Linked DNA regions of Homo sapiens: regions 1, 2 and 4 are each linked to region 3. The links are contacts of gene promoters, found by promoter capture Hi-C in blood cells and fetal thymus (Javierre and others, 2016). All regions are on one chromosome and are shown on one strand. Each heading gives the region's core, a stretch centred on a gene start or on the middle of the fragment in contact. The rest is flanking DNA. Distances are from core to core; before and after follow the strand shown. Region 1 has its middle 14 kb from the start of ARL4C. Region 2 has its middle 34 kb from the start of ARL4C. Region 3 holds the start of TRPM8 (transient receptor potential cation channel subfamily M member 8). Region 4 has its middle 53 kb from the start of ARL4C.

Region 1 (2,700 bases), core at 36-2,535, 590 kb after region 3:
CAGCTGTCTCAACTCTCTCTCTCCTCATCTCTCTCTCCCTGTCTCTCTCTGTCTCCCTCTCTCTTTCGCTGTCTCTTTTAGATTTGTGTGGCCCTCTAGCTATTGTCCTACAGTTTTACTCCTTCCCTTCTCAGAGGGTCTCTGCTTCTCTCACAATGCAACTTTCTGTCTGCTCATATCTGTCATGCCCTTCCCCACTCTCTGAACCTGTGCTGGCAAAGGTCACCTCCTAATTGCTGCACAAACTGGACCTATTTTAGTCCTAATCATACTTATTGCCTCAGTTGCATCTGGTGCTGTTAACCACATTCTTTTTTCACAAAACTCTCTCTGACTTGCCTTTCTTTGGCTTTCATTGTAGTCCTTGCTCCTAGCTCTCTTGTATATTTTGAGGTTCTCTCACAAAGTCCTTTTCTTCCATTTAACCCTGAACTGTGAGTGTTTTCTGAGCCCTCTGCTTGGCTCTTGTTCCACACCACACCTGCCTTCAAGGGACAGTTTTTTTGCTCCAGTGAATTCTTCTCCTCCTCCACAAGGAGGAGGTTTTTGTTGTGAGAAAATACACATAACATAAAATTTACCATCTTAACCAGTTTTAAATGTACAGTTCAGTGGTATTAAATATATTCAGAATATTGAGCAAACATCACCACCATTCACCCTCATAACTCTTTTCATCTTGTAAAACTGAAACTACCCATTAATAATAATGTTTCATTATTTCCCCCTCCTCTCAGCCCCTGGAAATCACCATTCTACTTTCTGTCTTTATGATTTTGACTACACTAAGTACCTCATATAAATGGAATCATACAGTGTTTGTCTTTTTTCGACTGGCTTATTCCACTTCGCATAATGTCCTCAAATCTCATCCATGTTGTAGCATGTGTCAGAATATCTTCCCTTTTTAAAGCTAAATAATTTCCCGTTTTACATATGTGCCACATTTTGTTTACTCATTCATCTGTCAACAGATACTTGAGTTGCTTTCACCTTTTGGCAATTGTGAATAATGTTGCTATGAACATGAGTGTACAGATATCCCTTCAAAACCCTGCTTCCAATTCTTTTGGGTATATATCTGGAAATGAGATTGCTCAGTCATGTTGTATTTTTGTGTTTAAGTTTTGTAGGAACTGCCATGCTGTTTTCCATACCAGCTGCACCATTACAATCCCACCAGAAGTGCACAAATTTCCAATTTCTCTGCATGATCACCAGTATTTGTTATGTTCTTTTTTTTTTTTTTTTTTTGAGACGGAGTCTCACTGTCACCCAGGCTGGAGTGCAGTGGCGCAATCTTGGCTCACTGCAAGCTCTGCCTCCCGGGTTCACATCATTCTCCTGCCTCAGCCTCCTGAGTAGCTGGGACTACAGGCACCCGCTACCATGCCCGGCTAATTTTTTGTATTTTTAGTAGAGACGGGGTTTCACTGTGTTAGCCAGGATGGTCTCAATCTCCTGACCTTGTGATCCACCAATCTCGGCCTCCCAAAGTGCTGGGGTTACAGGCATGAGCCACCACACCTGGCCTGTCCTTTTTTTTTTTTTTTTTTTAATTCTAGCCATCCTGATGAGTGTGAGATGGTGTCTCGTTGTGGTTTTGATTTGCATTTCACTAGTGGTCAGTGATGTTGAACATCTCTTCATGCACTCATTGGCCATTTGGATGTTTTCTTTGGAGAAATCTCTATTCAAGTCCCTTGTCCCTTTTTAAACTTGGTTGTTTTTGGTGTTGTTGTTGAGTTTCCAGTGGATTCTTCTTCCCAGATATTTGCTTCTACTGTGCCTTGAACTATGTCCAAATCCCTGTTCAGTTTCCACTGGGTTGTCCCATGGACACCCCTAGACCATTCCAACTAATCTCACCATTGCCCCTACTGAGTCACTCTTCCTCCCCCATTCCTCTTCTTACCTCCTTCACTACCATTGACTCATTCTCACAGCCAGAACCCAGCAGAGAAGTGGGAGGCTGGTGAAGCCCTGCCACACGCCTTTTGATAGAATATCTAAGGACACAGCCTCCAGCTTTAGGAGAGAATAAGCCCATTTCTCTGCATTTGGTTGGGAATGAGCTTGATGGTCTCATCTGGGCCCATAGGTGGTGGGAGCCCTGCTGCCTCTTGGGCCAAGGAGACCACTCAGTAACTTTCCATGTCCTCTCCCCCCAGACAGCATCAAGGATGTCTGGCTGAGGTGAAGGATTCAGCCAGGTATGGCTGGACACTATGGGACCTTGGCCTTTAAGGTGGGTGTGGTAAGGGGAGTTTGGAGAAAATCCTGGCCCATCAGAAGTCCCCACTTTCTACCTACAATACCTGTAATAATAACTTCAATAAATAATAAAGTTAATAATAACTTTAACCCACAATACCTATAATAATAACTTCAATTTAAGGGTGCTATAGAATGACTAATTGTAATGTAATTTGAATGTGAACATTACAAAATTGGAAGTTAGTTGTTAACTAGAACATCACAGTTTATGGTAATGCACAAAATCAACTCCAAGTTGCCTAAATGATGGTAGAGAAGAATATTTCCAAAATATAAAACCTAGGTAGGGGACAAAGATGGAACCCACAAAACATTACCTGTAATGCTCAGTAATAATTGTCCACTGCACAGAGGACAGAGGAGATGAACAGGGCCACCCCCCTGGGCTGAAGGGAAGATGTGACTCCCTGAGCTAGGATGGCC
Region 2 (2,700 bases), core at 59-2,558, 610 kb after region 3:
CCAACCAGACTGGATTCTATTGCCGCCTCCTGGATTTTAGTGCCATTTGTTTCTGGTGCCTGAATTCCAGTTTCCAAGCCCTATGCCCCGGCACAGGCTGCCTCTGTCCAGAGGAAGGGGCACCTTTGCTCATTTGCAGGGAAGCCTGGGACTGGATATCTAGTTGACCAAGCCCAGGTCACCCTGCCAAAGTGCCAGAGTGTGAGCAGAGCCAGCATCCAGATATGTGGGGTTCTGCAATAAGAGGTTGGTGCTATCTCCCACCAGACCTCCTGCTGTGGGAATTCCCCAAAGGAAGAGAGTCAGCAGCCAGATTTCCAAAAAATGTTAAATGTCCTCTGCAGCAGGAGGACAGAGTGCAGAGGGAAGGGCCACAGGTGAGAGGGGGAACTGGATTAGGAAGCAGATCATCCTCTTGAACTTCATGAGCAATGTGACCAATACAATAGGCCCTGAAATAACCACAACAAATGGTGACTTTGAAATGGACAAAGAGATGCTGTAGCAAGTATCATCCTCTCCTCATGTGTCACTGGTCATACAAATGGTTCTGGGCAAAGAGGGCAGCCTGCCAAACTGTTGCAGACTTTTCCAACGGCCTGATTAGAATGATTCCTCAGGGGCTGTCTGTTCAAGAACTGACCCCTCTCTAGGGCCTGCAGGGAAGGATCTTGGAACCTAGAGCTGCAAGCAGCAACTCTGGAGGCTGCACTCTGTGTGTGTGGACAGAGTGGCCATGAAGGAAGGTACTGTCACTTCCACGCCTCAAAGGGCATTGACCTTAAATTTAGGAAATCTATTCCTATGTGTGTGTCTCTACATAAAGCAAAGGCACACAAAGCACTCAGAGGTTAAGCCATCACAGCTAGGATAGAATCATGAAAGGGACATCACCAATGGGCTGGTTTCCCTGGGGCTGACCCTTCTGTCTGGAGCCTTCCAGGGTCTCGCCTGTAGACCCTAGTCCTTAATGCCAGGAAGGACCTGCAGAACCAGAGACAAGAGGTTTGGGTTATGCATCATGCATGGAGCTTGCAGGTTGATTGCACTGCCTAAAGAACAGCATGTTTCATGGGTTTAAATAAATCTATTCAGTAAACCAAAAATAAAATTATAAGCCCCCCAACCATCTGAATCGACCCCTCCTCTCAGCTGAGGCATTCCAAAGTTAACCTGAAAAACTAGTTCAGGTCATGATGGGAAGGAAAAGTTGGACATGCCTTATTATTCCCTCCTCCCTTCTGCAATGCAGACACAACTGACCAGCATTAACATTAAAACAGACCTTAATTAAGACTGACAGAATAGACTCTTTAAGTCTGATAAGAAACATTTGCAATCTCTTCTCTCTGAAGCCTGTTACCTGGAGGCTTCTTTATCTGCATAAGAAAACCTTGGTCTCCACAACCACTTATCATAACTCAGACATTTCTTTCTATTGATTCCAGATCTTTAGATAATAACTCAACCAACTGCCAATCAGAAAATCTTTGAATCCACCAATGACCTGGAAGCCCCTGCTTCCAGCTGTCCCACCTTTCTGGACGGAACCAAGGTACATCTTAAATGTATTGATTGATGTCTTGTGTCTTCCTAAAATGTATAAAACCAAGCTGAAGCCCAACCATCTTGGGCACATGTTCTCAGGACCTCTCAAGGGCTGTGTCACAGGCCATTAATCACTGATATTTGGCTCAAATAAATCTCTTCAAACATTTTACAGAGTTTGACTCTTTTCATCAACAGTACTACCATGTGAATAATTTAATTATAATTTTTTGCATTAAAAGCATTAATTTGTTCCATGTAGGATTTTAGAATATACTACAAATATTGTAATCCTCTTTTGGCATTTTCATCATTTTTCTATATTCTGGAGCTCCAACACTGGAAGTGCTCTGGGTCCATCTGGGCTTCAAGGGGCCCAGCTTGGGTGGGGAGGGCAAGTGGGTCAAAACTTAGCCTTCTCCACAGTTTTCTGGGTCCCTGACACTTGTGGACATCATGGGCCTGCAGGGTTCCCTGGAATTCTGGGCACAAGGCCAGCGGGTTTCAGAAGCCTGCAGCAACCCCAGCACCACTCTTAGGTTCTGGGTATATATGAAAGAGTCCTTGAAGAGAGGGACAAGGGCATTTCTTCAAGTAACTGGAACTTTCTAGGACTTCTTCCTCAGAGGGTTACAGACTAGAAGAGCTGGGATGGGGAAAGAAAGATGTTTTGAAAATGCCCAGCCAAGTCGTGGGCATAAGCAGTGCCTCCCCACTGGGAGGACCAGCCCTCTGCCCTTACCGTGCACCCTCCCATTCTTGCACGTATGGACTCCTGTGCTTTTTCCAGGAGTGGGTTTGGCTTGATCCTCTCCCCTCCTCTCCTGGAACTGCTGAACCAGACAGGCTTCAGTCCTGCAGGCCTCAACCCAAACTCCTACATCACATTGTTTTATATCTGGCACACACCAAAGGGGTTAGAGGAGTCTGATGAGCAATTAGTAGCCCAGGGTTCACGTACAGTTGCTAGCTCTTATGTGTTAGCACCTGTGATTTCAAGGCTATTCAAGAAAACAACGCATTTCAAATGTAAACCAGTACAGCCTCTATGGAAAACAGTATGGAGAGTCCTTAAAGAACTAAAAGTAGGTCTACCATTCGATGCAGCGACCAATACTAGATACCCAGTGATACTGGGTAAAACTACTACAT
Region 3 (2,700 bases), core at 181-2,680:
CCACACCTGGCTAATTTTTGTATTTTTAGTAGAGACAGGGTTTTGCCATGTTGCCCAGGCTGGTCTTGAACCCCTGACATCAAGCAATCGGCCCGCCTCAGCCTCCCAAAGTGCTGGGATTACAGGCATGAGCCACTGCACCCAGCTGGCTCAATATTTCTAACAGCTAAAAAGCTCATTTTGCTGCTCCGCTCCTCAGATGGACTTGCTCCCCTGTGCAGTGCTATATATGTGCTTGGGGACCATGCTGGGTATGGGAGTTTTTAGTCCTAGGACCCATATTTAGAGTAATTCTGAGATTTCTCTGATTCTCTCTCTCTATTTCTAGCTGGATCTCTTCTCTCACGGGTCCTCATTCAAATCTATCATTTCCAGTTTTCCACAGCCCCCACCCTTCCCTACTTACTACCTAACACTTGGCTGCTCCCTTCATCTTTATGACCTGTCTGAGCCTTGGAATATTTGAGTTTGAGACCTCTGTCTGGAGTCTTTTGTCTCTCTTTGTTAAGGGGGTTTTCTTCTTGAATTGAACATGCTTTCTGCAGGAGTTATCACTACAACCCTATCCTTCCTTTCAGACCTTGCTCAAATCTCTCTGCCTTTGCAAAAAACCCCTTCACACTCCTTCTCTTTCATCTCTAACCTTTTTGCAAGTGTATGTCTTGTGCAATCAGTTCCTGAAATACACTATCCTATTTGTATTTCTCTATGACATATGCTTCATATGAAAATAAAATAGAAATAATGGCCAAAACAGAGGAACATTAGTTATAATATAACTGTTATGTTTGTGGCACGTGATTTAAGTAAAATGACCGAAAGTTGCCCACTGACAATTGTTACTTATTTCTTCGAGGAGAGCTCTTCCAAAGTGTAGTTTAAAGGGGACAGGAAATAGCTGTAAATTAATGAAGCTGGATTTGCTCACCTCCATGATGCCCTCTTGCCTGGCCCAATACTGCATTTAGTTGGTATGAGGAAAGTTCACAAAATCTGCAAAAAAGCAATGTTGGTTAAATTTCCTCTATTTAATAATTTTTTTCCTAATCTTAATTAAGAGCTTTTAATTTATTAATTAATCTTGTCATCACTTTCTATAATGAGCATTTCCCATTTTATTTGTGGTTTTTAAAATGTGCCATTAATTGCAGAAATTAAGTATTAGTATGATTTCATACTATGGTGTTATTGTCAAGCTAAGAGCAGGAATTTGGTATCATTTCTTTATTAGCATTTAAAATACCATGTTCACTAATTATCCATTCCCTACTCGTATTCCACTGCTAAATTGCTGCTATGCTTGGAGGCTTTAGGAGTCTTCTTGCAATTTCAGCGGCTTAAGTTTTTTGTTCCTCTGCTTAAAAGAACCTCAGAGAAGAAGGCGGGGCTAAGAAGATTCCAGTTATAAAAGCTTTCCTCCTCCTGTGGGGAGAGACCAGCAGGATCCTTGGGTGAAAGAAAATCCTGCTTGACAAAAACCGTCACTTAGGGTATGTCATCAACTTTTGCTTTTTGCTTCTCCTTAAATGTTGCCATTGCTGTAACTTGTAGAATAGTACGAGTTTGTGTCTCTGGGAGGGGCATCATTTAGTTTTTCTATGAAGATTTGAAACTAAAGGAAGACAAAAATTTAAATTCCTCAAAGTGTTGTGGGCATAAGCAAATGCGGGTTCACAGATATATCTAATCCTCACTTAGATTTATTTAGAAATGTAGAATTATTTGCTGAATTTTTGAATGACTTTAAATATAATTACAGTTTTCTGTTTCTGATTGAAGGAGTTAGAAACTCCCTAAATGAGCTTTAATGAAAAATTCACTGGCATCTGAACTCTGCAACTGACTATCTGAAGCAATCCTATTGGGAACATAATAAAACAAGTTTTTTCTTGAATCAAGACTATGGTGAAATGTAAATTAACATCAAGAAATAATGCATTCAAATAGTAAATATTCTTTGATAATGAAAGGAGCGGGTATATTTAGCTTGTTTTTACATACTGTGTTTCCTTCCGTTCTTCCAGCCTGTTGAAACAGGCTCATCATTTGTATTATTTATAAGCAAGAGAGAAACACTGAAGGGCTGGATGAATAATTAAAGGTTTTATTTCCATTTAATTTTCAATCCATTATTGCCAGTGCTGACTTTTTCAGTGTTAGGATTCTTGAGCTGAACATAAGGAAATGGTTATTCCTTAAGACTATTCTATATGTGCTAATACAAAGATACTGATCATGAGAGAAGTTTTAGCTTGTCAAAATCTTGACAGTGCAAAGGACTTACTTCCAAGGTTGTGACTTTGGATGCATATTTATTTATAATTTGGAAAAAAGCTGTTTATTATTATTTATTAATAAGATATTTATAATTATATTACAAATAATATAATTGTTATAGAAATAATATAATTACATTATAAATTATAATTACATTACAATTTATAATAATAATTATCACTATCTTTGTTTTGCCTAAGAACTGATATCATTCTTGGCACCTGTGAAGACAGTAGGGGTCCAGGCTGCATAGGGACCCCTGCTTTTCCTCTTATTCTAAGAGGGTCTCAGCAAATAGCATCTTGGAGCATCACCTGCTGCCTGTATCTACCTCCTGTTTCTCACTTCTACTTTTTGGAGCAGGATACCTTGGGGTCAATGACTTCGGGAGCCTCCACTGGCTTTTGCTATTTTCCTAGTTTT
Region 4 (2,700 bases), core at 159-2,658, 630 kb after region 3:
TTCTTGGCCGGTCCCCTCTCATACTCCAATATAGAGATGCAGACAGTGAGTCAATGAGTTCCCATCACTGATAAGTCACATGGTTTGGGTTTGCCTCGTTTTGTGTCTTGCAAACAAAAGCATTCTGATGGATTTGGCTGAGGTCAGTCCGCCCTCTCTCAGGGTTGCTATGGAAGGAATCTCTCCATCAGGAGGTGTGTGGACGAGGACCTCTGAGATCTCTGGCTCAACTCTAAGATTCTATTACTCCTTCGTATGATTCAAAGTTGCGTAGGTTCTTCTTCTTTCAGGTGCAGGTGGAAAACATTTAAAGACACAGAGTTTTTAAATTGTTTTATATTTTAGATTCAGGGGTTACACGTGCAGGTTTGTTTCAAGGATATATCATGTGATGCTGATGTTTGGACTTCTATTGATTCCATCACCCACATAGTGAGGGTAGTACCCAGTAGAAAGTCTTCAGCCCTTTCTCCCCACTCCCTCCCTTTCTCCCTCCTTCTCTCCTTTTGGAGTCCCCAGTGCCTATTGTTCTCATCTTTATATTTGCGTGTACCAAGGTTTAGCACCCACTTGTAAGTGAGATGTGACATTTGCCTTTTTGTTTCTGCATTACTTCATTTAGAATGATGGCCTGCAGCCACATCTATGTTGCTGCAAAGGACATAATTTCACTCTTTTTTATGGCTCCATAGTATTCCATGGTGTACATGTATGACATTTTCTTATTCAGTCCACCATTGATGGACATCTAGGTTGATTCCATGAAGAGAGACACAATCTTAATTATTTTGTCATCACAGACGTCACTAAGACAAAAAGAGGGAACATTTAACGTAAGTTCTACAACCTAATGACACCGACAGGAATTCGATCCTGGTTTTGGAAAGCTTAAATTAGACACACACACGTGCTCAGGCACACACAAAGCAGAATTCTTTGTCTAACTTAGACCCCAACTTCAGAGGGTAAGTTCAAGTTCACATCTTGAAAATTTAAATGGCTCTATTAAGACATTCTTCCCATATCCTTGGGTTTAAAATGCAGTGAGTCAACCAGCCAAACTAATTTCGTACTCAACTCTCATATACTTGAACGAATTATGGCTATTTTTAACAGGATTATGAAGATTATCAAAATCACTTGAGAGAGTAAGAAATCCTGTTGGAAGGAAGTATAATACCCTTGCAAAGATAAGTATAATTAGTGTGGAAAAGGGCGATGAAAAATTAATAGAGTTTTAAGGTCAAAGATACATGCAGATGTGTAAAATCCTCAAATTAGTTCTTGTAAGACTCTGTCCTAACAAATTCCGCGATCAGAACATTCTCCGAAGTTTTTCTGCATTCTTCAGACTCTCCAAGAGTGGAAGGTGCCAACTGCATCCCTAGCCAGGGCAGGAGAACAAAGAGAGGAACCCACATCGTGACCACAACCATCTCAGCCCCGAACGACGCTGCTCTCATAGCGAAGGTGTTCAGTTTCACCACTAGAGGGAGCGCAGAGCCCACAGCATCATCATAAGGTTAGGGAGAAAGAAGAAATTGGGTCCAGAAACTTCCTTCGGCATCCCCCACCCACCACAGATAAACGTTACAGCGATCTCATGGGAGAATTGAGAATGCACACAGGTCAAACGATCTTGTGGTAGACCACAGGCTGGGTAAGTTCATTTGCAAGTCCTTGCTGTCTGCTAGCCTCCAGCGCGTGCCTTACAGACACTTTTGATGGATAATCACACCTTTCTCACAAGGGTTCCGTGAGTCACTATTTTGCAGAAGAAGCAACTGAGGCCCAGAGAGTAACTTGTTCGAGTTGATAAAGCAAGTAAGTCTTCCGGACTCCAAAGATGGTGCCTGTAACAGTGTTCCCAGGAAGCACCCAGGACTCAGGACGCTCTTTGAAGATCACAATTGTATGATCTCACTGAAAACAAGCTTCTGCCCCTGAAGTCATGTTTTGACATCCTAGCTGTTCCTGGGAACTCATCCACAACGTCCCATTAAAAGTGGCCATGACATTACAGAAAGAAAACAGAAAAGAAGGAGAGAGTGAGAGAGAAATTCACAAGAGTGCCCCTACCACCAGGAACCTAAAAAACAGAGAGAAAATCCACAGGCCAAGAGGAAATCCACTGGGCTGCTAGTGGAGTTTGACAGAGAAGCACAAGTCATCATCGGATATCCTGTTTCTAATATGAATGGTAAAGGCCTCAATTTATTTATTTAATTTAATTTAATTTTTTGAGACGGAGTTTCACTCTTGTTGCCCAGGCTGGAGTGCAATGGTGTGATCTCGGCTCACTGCAACCTCCGCCTCCCTGGTTCAAGTGATTCTCCTGCCTCAGCCTCCCAAGAAGCTAGGATTACAGGCACGCACTACCACACCCAGCTAATTTTTGTATTTGTAGTAGTGACAGGGTTTCACCATGTTGCCCAGGATGGTCTGGAACTCCTGACTTCAGGTGATTCCCCCGCCTCGGCCTTCCCAAAGTGCTGGGATTACAGGCCTGAGCCACCGCGCCCAGCCAATTTATTTTTACAAAAGAATATTTCTATAACAAATAAGAAAAAATGGAATTATAACAACACTGTTGGTTTATAGCATCGAATGAACAAAAATCGGGGTATAAAGGAGGGGATGGCAGTTCTTTCCATGGATAAGGCATAGTCAAAATTCCTACTCATTTTTTTTTAACTCTGA

Evidence for each region. The method cuts DNA at HindIII sites, captures the fragments that hold promoters and counts their contacts. A CHiCAGO score of 5 or more calls a contact.
Region 1: a fragment that was not itself captured here is called in contact with the fragment with the promoter of TRPM8 in region 3 in 7 of 17 cell types (activated CD4 T cells, naive CD4 T cells, non-activated CD4 T cells and 4 more); the score reaches 7.5 in activated CD4 T cells.
Region 2: a contact is called between a fragment that was not itself captured here and the fragment with the promoter of TRPM8 in region 3, in 6 of 17 cell types (total CD4 T cells, total CD8 T cells, non-activated CD4 T cells and 3 more). The highest score is 11.6, in total CD4 T cells.
Region 4: a fragment that was not itself captured here is called in contact with the fragment with the promoter of TRPM8 in region 3 in 5 of 17 cell types (total CD8 T cells, activated CD4 T cells, non-activated CD4 T cells and 2 more); the score reaches 8.1 in total CD8 T cells.

Annotation. Positions count from the first base shown.
Region 1 is chr2:234,509,682-234,512,381 of GRCh38, forward strand. No RefSeq gene overlaps it. Among named protein-coding and RNA genes, the nearest start is that of ARL4C, 14 kb to the left of the region's middle. The HindIII fragment of the contact is 3,740 bases long and covers 1-2,700 here.
Region 2 is chr2:234,529,416-234,532,115 of GRCh38, forward strand. No RefSeq gene overlaps it. Among named protein-coding and RNA genes, the nearest start is that of ARL4C, 34 kb to the left of the region's middle. The HindIII fragment of the contact is 6,369 bases long and covers 1-2,700 here.
Region 3 is chr2:233,915,943-233,918,642 of GRCh38, forward strand. TRPM8 (transient receptor potential cation channel subfamily M member 8) reads left to right here and starts at 1,431. Exons shown (of 26, transcript NM_024080.5): 1 at 1,431-1,490. The HindIII fragment of the contact is 1,520 bases long and covers 1,410-2,700 here.
Region 4 is chr2:234,549,226-234,551,925 of GRCh38, forward strand. No RefSeq gene overlaps it. Among named protein-coding and RNA genes, the nearest start is that of ARL4C, 53 kb to the left of the region's middle. The HindIII fragment of the contact is 1,047 bases long and covers 886-1,932 here.